Linked DNA regions of Homo sapiens: region 2 is linked to region 1. Evidence: promoter capture Hi-C in 16 types of primary human blood cells and fetal thymus (Javierre and others, 2016). All regions are on one chromosome and are shown on one strand. The core of a region is centred on a gene start or on the middle of the fragment in contact, and the rest is flanking DNA. Distances in the headings are between cores, read along the strand shown.

Evidence for each region. Contacts are between HindIII fragments. The CHiCAGO score rates a contact against its expected background, and 5 or more counts as called.
Region 2: a contact is called between a fragment that was not itself captured here and the fragment with the promoter of HMGB4 in region 1, in 1 of 17 cell types (M2 macrophages). The highest score is 5.6, in M2 macrophages.

What each region holds. Positions count from the first base shown.
Region 1 is chr1:33,862,191-33,866,826 of GRCh38, reverse strand. HMGB4 (high mobility group box 4) reads right to left here and starts at 2,748. Exons shown (of 1, transcript NM_001379301.1): 1 at 2,036-2,748. The coding sequence starts at 2,635. The coding sequence ends at 2,075. The region is part of intron 5 of CSMD2 (CUB and Sushi multiple domains 2); the gene reads left to right. The HindIII fragment of the contact is 10,607 bases long and covers 1-4,636 here.
Region 2 is chr1:34,689,367-34,694,002 of GRCh38, reverse strand. No RefSeq gene overlaps it. Among named protein-coding and RNA genes, the nearest start is that of MIR552, 22 kb to the right of the region's middle. The HindIII fragment of the contact is 1,625 bases long and covers 1,968-3,592 here.

The DNA.
Region 1 (4,636 bases), core at 1,499-3,998:
GCCCTAAGTTCTGCCAACATTAAGGTGGGGACCACCATATCATGGCATCAAGTGAACTTGTATGAGTGTACAGGCTGGAGGGCCAGCACCCTTATAGTAAGGAGCAAGGGCCCCAGGGAGGCAGGGAGAGGGCAGGAAGAGCAGGAGGGGGATAGCTCTCCGTGAGGGGTGAGACCAGGAGGAAAGGATTGGTATGGATTACATTTCAAGAATGAAGGAAACTGAGAGCACTTATATCTGAGGATCTCTATTTTCTCAATGAAGCAGAAAATGCGGGCGTCTCCTGAGAGGGAAGAGAAGCAGAGCCAAGTTGGAATAGCAGCTGTGGGGAATGCGGAACGGGAATTTTGCCAGCATGCCTACAAAGTTGTCAAGTGGAATAAGGCTGCTTCCTTCATGAAGACTGCAGCACAGGCTTGCTGGGTGGTCCCCAGTCCCTCCCCCATTACTTTCTGCATTCACTTTCATCATCTTGCTTTGCAGTGCTGCAATTTATGCCCAAGTCCATCTCTCCTGTCAGAAGGAAATTTTTTATAGGGCGGGAACTTAGCAGTAGTGCGTAATGTGCCTCCCTGTACCCAGCAAATGGCCTGGCACATGAAAATCCTCCACAAATGACCTGTTTGATTCCAGACCCTGAATTTCTAAATCACTGTATTACCTCTCATCCCCTAAAGGCTCATGCAGTTCTAAAAGACTGTTCAAAAATATGTATTTTTACTGTTCAGCGCAGTAGAGTAGAAAGTGTAGGTCCCTCTATCATGGAATAGGGGTCCTTAGAGGTGGAGTTAGGGAGATCTGTTGCATGTATAAACTGGTGACAAAAAAGCAGCTTTGCATTTTGGCCCAGTATTTTTGATGTCAAGAAGTCAGAAGAACCATTTCAAAATATTCCATTTCAATCTTTATTGATTGGTATGGAATGTTGCCTACAGTATATTCTTGCCTGAAAAATCTAGTTACCAGACAGACACTTACAGCACAATCCCATTTGTGTCAAATTATAGTCAAGTAGGAAAAAACCTAAGTCAAACCATGTCAGGGAAAAAATGAAATGTGTTGTTCATCTTCAATGAAAAGTTTAGGAGACTGTTCTGATGCCACAGGGATTCTAGCATCTCGGCCTCCTTCTTGGGCCCTATGAGATGGCAAATGGCTGTCCACATTCCCTGGACTGCGGTGTCCCCCAGGACTCCTTACACAGGTCCAGAGGTCCACCCTGATAGGACCAACTTGGGTCACATGCCCACCACTGAGCCAATGACTGTGGCCAAGGCGATCCTGCCCTCTTATCCAGCCTTGGTCACGAAAGGGAGTCAGAGTGCTATGAACAAGAGGAAGAGGAGTGGAGGCCACATATTATACATCTATCCACTGAAAAACGATTGATCTGGTTCCCCAGCCCCCTGCTTTTTTTTTTTTTTTTTGGTAAAATCTGCCCCTTGCCTCCTCCTGATTAGGGAACACCCCTGGGAGTTCACCCTGGCCCCACTGAGCGTATCTAAGTGTTGCTGGAAATCCTGGGTTCCCTCAGGCCTGTCTCAACTCAGATGCCATATGTTTCTCCTGGGGCCTCAAGTGTGAGCTTGAACTCTAGGCCTTCTAGCCCTGGCAGTCTTCCCAGTCCTGCCACTGCTTAGCAGAGTCAGACGTCATGTTCCTGAACCTGACACTGAGTAGGGTCCTCTCACCTGGATCACCACTCAGAACCACGGTGCTTCTACCTCCATGACTGCTGCTACTTTACACCTGGAGGCTCCCACCCAGTGGCCCAAGTCACACCTTTTGTTTACTGCTGACACTTCTCTCAAAGCCAGCCCTTCCCTCCCTTTCCCTCCCCTCCATTCCCCTCCTTTCCCTTCCCTTCCCCTCTCTTCCCTTCCCCTCCCTCCTCTCCTCCCTTCCCCTTCTTTCCCTTCCCGTCCTCTCCGTTCCCCTCCTCAGGATCAGTCTCTCCTCTACCAAGCCACTCCCTCCTCCACAAAGCATCAGTCACAGCTACTCTAATGCCACACATGAGACCAGGAACAGGAAATACGGTTGAATGGCATTTTGTTTTTTCAAACTGGATCCATCAGCTCTGCCTGACTCTTTTCCCTCTGCACCGGTTTCTAGCTGACATTCGGTACTTCTTCCTGGCATTACATTGTTTACGGTAGAGTTCAAGTTCCTCGAAGTACTTAGCTCTCAGGAGAGCCACTCTTTGCTCATAAGGGTGCTTCTCCAGGTCTGTCGCTGTTGACCACATCTTCCCTGTGGCCTTGGCCACCTGCACCACCGACCAGTTCGGGTTCTCCCTCTTCAGCTGAGCATAGTGGTCTTGGCAGAAGAGTAGGAAGGATGATGGAGGCCGTCTGGGTTCCTGGGGATCCCGCTTTCTCCGTTTCTTCCTCTTGCCAACATAATTCATCATTTCTTCCTGGTATCGGGCTTTGTCGAGTTTGGCCAGGGCTTCATATTTGGCCTTTTCATGCTTTGAGATGGATCTCCATTTTTCCGAACACTTTCTAGAGAACTCTTTAAAGCCAACATAGGTATTTGGCTGCTGCTCCTTGAATTTGTTTCTGTAATTCAGCAAAAAGTGAACGTAAGAAGAGACATTTGCCTTAGGCTTTAGCTGGATTTCTTTTCCCATGTTCGTAAGTTCACCTTTTTTCTGGATTCAGTAACGTGGACAGGAGAGACTGTTGTTCCCACACTCCAGGAGCAATCTAGAAAGTGCTGTACTTGCAGCGAATTTTTCTGTCTGCAAGAGCTGTAGTCAGGGCTCAGCCTTTTCAGTGCTGATGGCATTGTTGAGTCAGAGGAGGGAAACTGTGACATCATCCACAAGCCAGCCAATCCCAGCCAACACCTGTGGGCATTTGTGTACAGGTGCTCGTATTGGTTGGTTACTTGAGGGTCAATGTTTGCCTCTCATGAAAGATGATGGTTCATTCATAGTAGGCTATGAGGCAGCTATGTCCCCCAGAAATAATTCTCCTTGGCTTCCTGGAGGCAGTGGGTTTTGCTGCACTTTAGGGGCTTAAAATCCCTAGGCTGTAGTGACAGGCCATGGGGTCTGCCTTCCTCACTATACGATTTTCAGGATGCCTCATCATCCCTTCCAAAGACAGGCTGAGCATAATGAACATGGGGAGGTGGATAGATCCAGGGCTGTCATGATAAAATGTGAAGTGTTTCTGTTTGCCTTGAACAGTGGCAGCTCATGCCATACAAAGGGTTTAGTAGTAACTCTAAAAGTAATCAGGTATGACAGCTGTGACTTGGTTCCTGTCAGGACAAAGTTGTCTAATTTAAAACCTGAGCACTTGGGCTATGAGTTGGAACTCTTCATTTCTCTGAAGAAATGTGAGGCGAAAGAGGGGGGAGAACCTTGAGATTTTATTAATTAACACTGGAGTTCATGAAAATGAAATGGAATTTGTAGCACATCCAGAAGCCTCCCCACTCTCATGTGAGGGGTCCCCATTTCTTAGGTTTAGAACACAAAGCTGTAACAGCTACACTCAAACTGGCCGGCTTCTGGCTTTTGGTCAAAGTAATTGCAGATATTCCACTAGTCTTTCAATTGGAGGGAAGAGAAAAGATGAAAAAGTGTCATTCTGGGGGCCTTTGGACACTGCTAGGTACTTGCCTGTGTGGCACTGGGTTTAATATCACTTAATGGTTGATGATAGCCCCAAATTTATAGGACTAGAAAACTGAGTTTCATTAACATAAAAAGTAACATGTTCAAGGTTGAACAGCCACTCACAGGTGAGAGTGTGGATTTTGACGGCTGATTGCTTGACCTAAGCCTGTGCTTCATCCTGCCTGCACAGAGCTGTTGCCAGGGCACTGAGGGTCCAGATATGTGGTCTCAGCAGCTGAGCCGGACAAGGAAACTTGCCTAAGACTAGACCATATTTTGAATTTTTCCAGGTTCATTCCCAGGGTTCCAAGACTTCAGTGTTCATCTTCTGTAAAAGAAAGATGGAAACTAATAAGAGTCTCCAATCCTGAATTCTTGCCCAGCTCTGCTGCAAGGTGGCTGGCCTACCTAAGCCATCCCCTTCCTCCCTGTGAGCCAATGATCTCTCATAAATTGAGCATTCTGGACTGGCCAGGGAAGCCCCTCCAGGGGACAAGCTGTAGTTGTGTGGCAGGATTTGGGGGCCTATAAGATATCAGGTGCCATCAAGGAAGTCTGGGCTAGTAGGGGGTCTCGCAAAGGAACGGATTACTCTGGGGACACTTCTCAGCCTAGGTAGCCTTTTTCCCCCTGGCTCTTTCTCCCAAGGGGCCAGAGGTTGACTCACACATTTTTTGGACATGAGCAGGGCTGCCTAGATGAATGGGACACAGCTCCTTTCTGAGATCAAAAGATGGGACATGAGGAAGAACTTTAATGAAAGTCCACATATTCATCAGACTCTGCTCAGGCTCAGACACACACACACACACACACACACACACACACACACACACACACACACACACAGAGTAGCTTATCTGTGCCTCTTAACCTTCCATCCCTCTCATGATAAGATCCAGGAAGATTAACCCACAATAGCTATCGGGAAGCTAGCAGATTTAAGAAGAAAAGGCAGTAAAAGGGAAAAGCTATGTCAACCTTTTGGTGTTGTCAAAGTTC
Region 2 (4,636 bases), core at 1,531-4,030, 830 kb before region 1:
CCCAGGCACTTCCCTGTTTAATCCTTATGACAACCCTGGGACTAAGGATTGTTGCAGCTTGAAAAGGGTTGATGAGAGGTTGGGCATTTCTAAGAGGAGGCTGATAGGTTGGCTGCTAAGAGGCCTTTGAGCCTGGCATCAACTTTGTGAATTTATTGCAGAATAAATATGGCCAACTTCTGGCTCCTTGGGCTCCCCTTGTCTCTGCTCCAGGCTAGGCATGTTCTCTCTGTTCACGCAGTCTTTTGTCAACTGATTTAGTTAATTAGGTTTCTGCTTACTCAATTACCATCACCCCCTCCCAAAGTCTTGCCTCCCCGTGACCATACCCAGGCCACCATGATTGGCTTTTGGGGTCTTCCCAAACTCTGTTCAGTCACATTTTCAGGTCATCTCTTGGTTTGTGCCAACAGACAACATATTTCATCATTCTGCGTGGATTTTACTAACCTCTTTCTCAGAGGGCAGCCTTGCTTCTCGGTCCCACGCTCACTTCCACATGTGGCTGTCAGGTATTGCTTCTGTAGCTTTGACAGTGAGGGGCTGAAGCTCAGAGAGGTTAAGTCACTGGCCCAGGAGAGCTGAGATTTGGTGGCAGGTCCTCTGACTTCCAAGGCAGAGTGAAGGGATGGATAAAGGACAGGAGGGTCACAGGTCAGAGGTGCACAGCCTCAGGTTCCATGGGGAGTTCTGGGCATAGATTGCTTTGTGATCTTGTACTTAGGGTCTCCCAAGGCTTGGTAGAGACAGTTGTAGCCAGTTCAGCCAAGAGCCACTGGATCCTTGGAGCCACATCTGTGTTGGCCGGAGCTGAGCCTGTGCTCCAGGGATCTCTCAGAGCTGAGCCTACTATGGTGGCCGCAATGGGAGCTGACTAGTGCTGCTGCCTGTGGTTGGGTAAGTTGAGTCTGGGGGGTGATTGGGGTTAAAAACCAGCTCACTTATACTCTCCAACCTTTGCAGCCTGGTTTGGGGCTGCCAAAGCCTAGAAGAAGGAGCAGCTTCTCCCTTCCAGACGAGGCAGCATTTTGTAATTTTACCACCTTGTGGGGGAGGCTTTTTCTAATTCCTGCAAAGTCCAGCCTGAAAGTCAGCTGAGTGGGTTGTGCCCAGCACTCCGTGAGCTCTGCAGACCTCTCATATGCCCCTAGATTTCTGGAAAGCCCTCTAGGCAGCCAGTACAAGGTCAAACACTTCTGTGCAGCGAATCCCTGCAGGGGGATTTGTTCCGGGAAGGGAATTACATTTCAATTTGATTTAATTCAATGAGAATGACACCAAATTGATCAGCTGGTAAAATGCCATTTGACGGGCAGATGTGCTCTTTCCAAGTCAATAGGAACCACCAGAAAAGTCAGTCTTGTTTTTTCAGACAGAACTGAAAGTTTTACCCATTTTCTTTGCCTTTTAAAAAGGGCTCAAATTCCCTGAAGGTGGAGAGACTTTTCCTGATAGGCCTGTTGACCTGAGCAAAGTGATTAAACCACCAGGCACCCAGGGAACACGAAACAAGTTCTATATCTGTTTTTTCATTTTTGTTTTTAATTAAAGGCTCCCTAAAGCCTAGGAGCTCTCCAGCTGTGGTTCCTTGCCCCTTTCTATATGCCAGCTTATTTTCTGGGGTGTAAGCAGACATTTGGGTACTTGACCATGTCCCCTGCAGGAGTTCGCAGAAACCATCTGGTCACCTCTGTTGACCTAGAAGGGTGCAGCGGTCCAGACTTCTGTGCACTTTGTACCAGACTCTTGTATGATCTTGAGAAATTTCTCAGATTCTTTGAGCCTTAGTTCTGTCATCTGTAAAATGGGCATGCAGTCTCCCTTCGTCCATCTCTGGGCTACTCCCTTTGGAGTAGTAACATGAAAAATAGCTATGGCCCCACAATAACCACTGCCATTGTTCCACACACCACAGTCACTAGCATTATTTTTGAGCAGTTACCATGGGGTGGGCACTATTGAAAGCTTCATCTGCATTAAATCGCATAATCCTTGTAACAATTCCATCAGGTAGATACAGTCTGTTTGGCTACGGTGCTTATTTTGAAAATGCAAATTTGTTTCAATGCGATCCATGTGTCAGGAAACTATTTGAGCATCATGTTAGTTTTGCATTTGCTTATGTCTGATTTGGTGTGTGAGAAACACAAGGTGAGTGCAGAAAATTGCACCCAGTTGAACTGAGCTGTGTAGGAATATACATAACACACACATGGACACACTTCAAACATCTCCCAGCATTCTCAGTTCCTGTGTGTTATGGCCACTCACAGGATGCTACAACCTTCCTTCTGACTCCAGATCTACCTCCTCCCACCACCTGACAGTAATTCTGAAGCTCGCTTCCACATACAGAGTGAAGTGTGTGTAGCGTCATGCTTATTGTAGTGTCTATGTATGTCTTTTATGGCATTTAACATGTGTAAAACCGTGTTACCCTTTTTATTAGGTTTCTTTTATTTTTCGTGTGTCGCCGAAGGAAGTTTATGAGCATTGTACCCCAACTCCATTGTTCTCATGAACCCTGTGGTTTTTGCACAGTGTGGTGATTCTTTGTTTTATTTTATTTTATTTTTTTCTAAATTGTGATAAAAAGACACAGCATAAAAATTTTCACTGTGATTTTTTTTTTTTTTTTTTGACAGAGTCTTGCTCTGTCGCCCAAGCTGGAGTGCATTGGCATGATCTCAGCTCACTGCAACTTCAGCCTCTTCGGTTCAAGCAATTATCCTGCCTCATCCTCCTGGGTGGCTGGGATTACAGGCATGTGCCACTGTGCCCGGCTAATTTTTGCATTTTTAGTAGAGATGGGGTTTTACCATGTTGGCCAGGCTGGTCCCGAACTCTTGACCTCAGGTGATCCACTTGCCTTGGCCTCCCAAAGTGCTGGGATTATAGGCATGAGCCACCATGCCCAGCCCAATGTGTCCATTTTAAAATATACAGCTCAGTGGTACTAAGGACATTCATATTGTGGTGCTACTGTCACCACCATCCATCCACAGAATTATTTTCATCTTAAAAAAACTGAACTTCTATACCCAGTTCACAACTCCCCACTTCTCTTCTCCCCTGCTCCTGGCAACCACCATTCTACTTCCAGTCTCTAGAAATTTGACTACTCTATAAGTGGAATCATACGGTATATGTCCTTTTGTGACTGTTTTATTTCACTTAGCATAATGTCCTCAAAGTTCACGCATGTTGTAGCATGGGTCAGAATTTCCTTCTTTTTTAAGGCTGAATAATCTTCCATTGTGTGTATATACTACACTTTGTTTATCCATAGCGGGTGACTTTTAGGAACACTTACGAGGCATGACAGCAGAGCTATCCTGTTATTTTTCTGTTTTGCACATGACGAAACAGGCACAGAGTGGTTAAGTGACTTCCCCGAGGTTTCCCCACTAATAAATGGGAGATGTGAGATTCAAGCCCAGGCCTTGCTCATTCTGCAGCTTGTGCCTCTGACACTGTGTCACCTCAAATGCTGTGTTACCTGCTTCCTTTTTTTTCACGTTATTGTCATCAAACCAGACGATGTTGACTTTGAGTCAGCTTGGTTATTAATTTCCTGTTGTTAACAGAAGCTTTAGTGTCTGAAATCTCTGCTGCACCATCTGGAATTTTTAATAAAAACTCAAGGAATTTCCAGGGGTTTCTGTGTATTGCATATGTGTATTAGCCAGGGAAAAATGCTATTTAAAAATAGAAATGCCTACAGCCACTTTTAAACTCCAGGTGTGGGGCGAGGAGGTGCCCAACAGAAGGAAGGCTGCTCTTTTGTTTAAAAAAAAAAACAAAAACACTATAGTCAGGCTTTTTGGATTATTCAAGGGAAGGCTCACTCCCTACCTCCACCTCGAATTGTCTGGAAAGGGGAGGCTCTAAACTAAATTGCTCTACAGAACAAGCTAGCAGGAATTCCCGAACAGTTCACTGGCAGCTCAAAAGGGAGGGAGTTTTCAGGGTCTTGTAACAGTCAGGAAAAGAGGAGATTAAATAATGTTCATGGTAGAGAAATTAAGTGCCTCTGAACAGGGCAGCAGTCTGGGGCTCCAGAAGAGTGATAAGACAGATGGGTACACAGTCATAGTAATAAAGAATACTATGGGAAGTATCCTTTGTTGAGGTGGTTAAAGAACTCTTTGATGGTGACAATTTTAAATGTTTTCAGCTGTGTGCTATTTTATACCCTCCTTCACCCTTAACGTAGTCAGCTACAGAGAGCAGGCAGGCTTGGGTTAGTGACACCTTAGTGCAGGAAGGTGGATGGAATGGGTTCCTGAGAAGGAGCAATTGTAGGGAACAGGACAGCAGGCGTGGGAAGTGCAACATGCGAGGGGCTCTTCCCACAAGTAGCTTAGATGGAGGCTGAGATTGCTTTTCATGGATGACAGAGGAATGGACAGTTCAGAAGGCAGCACACATGGCCATCTGGGGAGCTGGCTCCCAGGGAGTGATCCACATGCTGCCCAACCTGGGCTGTTCTGCAACTTAAGGCCGTGTACTTCATAATGAGCATGGCCATGATCTTTTACAACTATCACTTGCACATCTCCAAGGCACTCTTTGCACATATAGGTGCCCTTCTTAAAGTCATCCACATAGATTTGAAAAGTTAGCACGAGTACTT